Linked DNA regions of Homo sapiens: region 2 is linked to region 1. Evidence: promoter capture Hi-C in 16 types of primary human blood cells and fetal thymus (Javierre and others, 2016). All regions are on one chromosome and are shown on one strand. The core of a region is centred on a gene start or on the middle of the fragment in contact, and the rest is flanking DNA. Distances in the headings are between cores, read along the strand shown.

Evidence for each region. Contacts are between HindIII fragments. The CHiCAGO score rates a contact against its expected background, and 5 or more counts as called.
Region 2: a contact is called between a fragment that was not itself captured here and the fragment with the promoter of CREB3L1 in region 1, in 1 of 17 cell types (M0 macrophages). The highest score is 6.0, in M0 macrophages.

The regions. Positions count from the first base shown.
Region 1 is chr11:46,276,362-46,278,969 of GRCh38, forward strand. It overlaps CREB3L1 (cAMP responsive element binding protein 3 like 1), which reads left to right and starts at 1,301. Exons shown (of 12, transcript NM_052854.4): 1 at 1,301-1,852. The coding sequence starts at 1,751. The HindIII fragment of the contact is 5,299 bases long and covers 1-2,608 here.
Region 2 is chr11:46,122,641-46,125,248 of GRCh38, forward strand. It overlaps LOC105376661 (a long non-coding RNA gene), which reads left to right. Exons shown (of 3, transcript XR_931252.4): 1 at 1-2,608. Among named protein-coding and RNA genes, the nearest start is that of PHF21A, 2.5 kb to the left of the region's middle. The HindIII fragment of the contact is 2,216 bases long and covers 172-2,387 here.

The DNA of each region.
Region 1 (2,608 bases), core at 51-2,550:
TAATCTTATTAATAACTTCTGGTCAGGAAACAGTGTGCCCAGCCCTCTGAGGGAGTGCCTTTCTGAACCACCTCCATTTGTTCAGGTGCTTGGCGATTGCTATCAGCCCTTTCAAGAGATTAAGTTTGTACGCAGGAGCAAGCCACTTAGGTAATGGATCCCGGGGCCCTGGGAGTGTCTGGTGACTGTGGAGTGTGCAGCCAGCCAGCACCTTGGCTCATTCAGATTCCAGAACCACTGTTTTCCAACTTCCTGCTCTTCAGAACCATTGGGGGGTAGGGAGGGACTTGACTATCGAGGAGAAGAGGGGGACTCTCCTATCTCTGGCTGTTCACCCAGCCCTTTCACACAGAGGGAAGCTGGGGACTGTCCTTGCCCTGAGGAGCCTCACAGCTCAGTGGGGTCACAGATACAAACAATGTGAGCAAATAAGGACAATACCACATTAGACTGGAAACAGTGGAGGTGAGCACATGATGCCCTGTGGGTGTATACCGTTGGTAACTGCTCCAGCCTGGGGGTTCAGGGAAGGCTTCCTGGAAGAAGAAACAGGTGAGATGAGAAATGAGAGTTACAAGCTGAAAATCGGCTGGGCATGGTGGCTCACACCTGTAATCCCAGCACTTTGGGAGGCCAAGGAGGCCGGATCACCTGAGGTTAGGAGTTCCAGAGGAGCCTGGCCAACATGGTGAAACCCCGTCCCTACTAAAAATACAAAAATTAGCTGGGCGTGGTGGGGCGCGCCTGTAATTCCAGGTGCTCAGGAGGCTGAGGCAGGAGAATCGTTTGAAACTGGGAGGCGGAGGTTGCAGTGAGCCGAGAACACACCATTGCACCCCAGCCCGGGCAAAAAGAGCGAAACTCCGTGTCAAAAAAATAGTAATAATAATAAATAAAATTTTTAAAAAGCTGAAAATCTCCCCCGTTGAGGGGAGATCTGTTGAGGGGACTGTGAAATGGAATTCCCTGACTGGGTTTCGTGCAGGCTTTAGTATAAGGCTGGAAGGATGGAAATAGCTCCCTCATCAATTTACGGGACAGTGGTTGGTGAAGCCTTAAAATGCCAATGTTCCAGGAACACTGTTATCGGTTCCAGGACTATTGTTGCTTTAAGCCCCCACCTTGAGCATTCAGAGAAGAGAGATTACTAAGACGAAGTTGCAGATGTCTCTTTAAAAAAGGAGAGAGGATTCCTCGAGCCACGCCCTCTTCTCATTAATATTAAATTATTGTGAATATTGATGTGGGGGCGTGGCGCCTTGGCCAGCTGGGCTAGCCAGCCAGGGGTTCCCGGTTTCACAGAGAGGAAAGTGACAGAAGACGTGCGGAGGGAGACGCAGAGACAGAGGAGAGGCCGGCAGCCACCCAGTCTCGGGGGAGCACTTAGCTCCCCCGCCCCGGCTCCCACCCTGTCCGGGGGGCTCCTGAAGCCCTCAGCCCCAACCCCGGGCTCCCCATGGAAGCCAGCTGTGCCCCAGGAGGAGCAGGAGGAGGTGGAGTCGGCTGAATGCCCACGGTGCGCCCGGGGCCCCTGAGCCCATCCCGCTCCTAGCCGCTGCCCTAAGGCCCCCGCGCGCCCCGCGCCCCCCACCCGGGGCCGCGCCGCCTCCGTCCGCCCCTCCCCCGGGGCTTCGCCCCGGACCTGCCCCCCGCCCGTTTGCCAGCGCTCAGGCAGGAGCTCTGGACTGGGCGCGCCGCCGCCCTGGAGTGAGGGAAGCCCAGTGGAAGGGGGTCCCGGGAGCCGGCTGCGATGGACGCCGTCTTGGAACCCTTCCCGGCCGACAGGCTGTTCCCCGGATCCAGCTTCCTGGACTTGGGGGATCTGAACGAGTCGGACTTCCTCAACAATGCGGTAAGATGAAGGGTCTCCGTTCCCGTTCCACCCCTCGGCACCCGTCCTCGCGGCGCGCCTGGGCCCCTAGAAGGACCCGACTACACATCACTGGGCAGGAGCCGGGGAGAGGGTTCAGCGCAGGGTCTCCAGGAGCGACATGTGTTTGGAGCTAAGCGCCCCTCCTGGGGGCTCAATCTTTGAATACACTGGCCTCCACCTTCTAGGGGGAAGGGGCCATCGAGGTATCGGGTCCGTCCGATCCTCGGATCTGAGCTCAAGAGACACCAATCCCGCCCTCCACCCACGTCTTCTAGCCGTCCCCAACCCACCCCAGGTTCCAGGACCAGACTGGGCGCAAAGTGGCAGCGCCCTTTCCTGCGCCTCCCTTGGGGCTTCGGTGGCTCATAGGCTGGATCTCCGCTGGGGGGCGCACCGGGGAACGTTCAGAGGGCCTGAGACCCGACCCCTCGGGGAAGCCAGGCCCAGAAATTTCAGGGTGCTACCCTGGCAGCCCCAGGGAATCAGGCCCAGAGACCCCCCACCCCAGGGAGGGACCTGAGGCTGGGGGCTGGGAAGAGGCGGTCAGGGCAACATAGGGTGATGGCTCAGGAGGAGGGAGCCATTTCTCTCCATCTGCCTCTAGATCTCTGCTCTGTCCCTCTGTTCCTGGAGTCTGGCTGACTTTCTCCCTCTCCCTATGTCTTCTTGACTAGGTCCGACTGTGAGCTTGTCTTTCTCCTCTTTCTCACTCTTCCCCTCCCTCCCTAAGGAAAC
Region 2 (2,608 bases), core at 30-2,529, 150 kb before region 1:
TTTTATGCCTATTCTACCTCCAAGGACTGTAACATGGAGAATTGCAGGGAGGAGAAAAACATCAGAAGAATTCTTGTTTTGAGAGATTTCTTGGCGGGGCGGGGGAGGGCCTTTTTTTTTTTTTTTGGAGGGGGTTTATTTAGATTTTCGAATCGATAGTTTTCAACTTGAAGCTTAACGTTTTTGTATGGATGTATTACCGGATTCTAAACCCCCAACCACAATAAATTTTTTAAAAGTAAAAAATCTTAGATTAAAAAAAACCCCTACTGGACAGTGATATTATCTGATCTGTGCAGCACTCTGGACTTAACATAGTGTTGGCCTTCGAATGTTAAATAACAATAAACCCCAACCTCAACTGAATACAAATGGGGGGGTGGGGGGTTTTGTTTTTAAAGCTCAGCACTTTTGTAGCAACTGCCACTACGCATTTTCCAGGCATTGATTAGCCATGCAACTCCCATAGGCATGAAATCCAGTTTTTGCAGATAAAGAGCAACAGTGGTGAGATGATTTGCCCAAAGTCAAAGTGAGTCATTCGCAGAACCAGAAATAGCCTTGGACTTTACTAGTCACATCTTTTCCATTAAATAATATTTCTATTACCTTGTTATGTATTTTCACAAGAGGTGCTTTGAGATCATTGGATATGAAGGTATTTTTTTACTTTCGTGACCTGCAAAATTAAGTTTAGTTTCTCAAGAAAAAGCAATTTTTAAAAATTCTGATTTCTTAAAAAATAAAATATGGACTTTATGGTACATGTGTAGGCCATTTAGTAGTCTGAGCTTTATGTTAAAAAAAATTCACAGCAGCGAAAGTGTAAGAGTTTGAGAGTGAAAATGAAAATTCCTATAAATGATTCAAGAAGCCTAGATGAACTCATAATGTTGTGAAACTAAACCCATAACGCAGTCAAGATGAATAACGGGAGGACAGGTTGGGTAGTAAGACCCAGCTTTACCATCTAGAGCTAACTGTAATGTATTTAAAATGAGGGAGGGGGTCTTTCAAGCTGGACCCACTGGCCAGTCACTGGAACTATAACCTAATGGTGTGATTTCAAATCATCCCAGGCTATCAACCTTTTTTCATAGGAAGACTGCTTTGGTGTTCTTTCTGGAAAAAGAAGGTAAAATTTTTTTTGGAATTTCATAGAAAAAAATCCAGAACCTCTAATTGTATCATGCTATAGAACTGGGGTTAGCAAACTTTTTCTGTAAAAGCCCAGATAGTAAATATCGTAGATTTTGCATCCCATACAGTCCCTGTCACAACTTCTCCACTCTATGCTGTTATAACCCAAAAGCATCTATACGACAACATGTAAATGAATGAATCTGGCTATGTTCTAATACAATTTGTATTTATAGGCCTTGACATTTGGATTTAATGTACTTTTCACATGTCTTGAAATATTCTTTTGATTTTTTTCAGTCATTAAGAAAAATTTTTTAAAAAGCACCACATTCCCAGTTTGGGGACTTCACAAAACCAGGCAGTGAGCTGGATGGGGCCCACGGGCTGTCATTTACCAATCCTTGCTATAAAAAAAGACTTAAGGTGGACTAACCACTGAACTTGTACCAAAGGGTGCTTGGTTATTAAGATGTGTGGTAGCAACCAAAAATCAATGTTATGCAAAGTCATTGTCTAGATATTTAATTAAAATATTTTTAGCTGAATATAAGAGTGTCTAACACTCCTGTAACTACCAAACTTAATGGAAAAAAAATACTCTGGAAGTATTGCTCCTTCAACTAAGGCACTTTGGGGCAGGCTGCTTAATCTCTGTTAACAGCCTCAGTTTTCCTATCTTGTAAATTGCAGCTTAGAATACCTACTTCCAGCCCCGGGCAAGGTGTTGCATGCCTGTAATCCCAGCACTTCGGGAGACCGAGGCTGGCGGATCCCTTGAGCTCAGGTGTTCAAGACCAGCCTGGTCAACATGGTGAAACCCTATCTCTACAAAATGTGCAAAAATTAGCTGGGCATGGTGCCACGCACCTGTAGTCCCTGCTACTCTGGAGACTGATGTGGGAGGATCACTTGAGCCCAAGGGGTTGAGGCTGCAGTAAGCTGAGATTGCTCCACTGCACTCCAGCTGGGTGACAGAGTGAGGCCCTGTCTCAAAAACAACAACAAAAACCCTACTAAGTAGGGCTCTCGAGAAGACTGAATAAAATAATTCATGTAACGTGCTTAGCACAGTCCTGGCACATAGAACTGTATAATGCATTTTCACTGTGCCCTTAAATTCATTTTCTTAGTTAACATAACTCAAGAAGGTGAACAGGTGGCATCCCAGTATTTTGATGGTGCAGATGTGCATGTGGGATTCAGGGACTCTCGTGTTGATTGAAGATTGTGAGGTTGGCATTATAAGCTTTGGTGGGTCTTTCTCAAGCTCTCAGCATCTCTGTGTGCTTGACACAGGCACTCTGTGGGCACACACTAGCTCTGTGGCCTTATACAAAATACCTAGGCTTTCTGAACCCTGGTGTTCCTTAAACATAAAGATAATACCTTGTGAGATTGTTGTAAGGGCTAAATGGCTTAAGTGTTAAAGGAAAAAAGATAACAATTAGTATGTTAGCAGAAATTC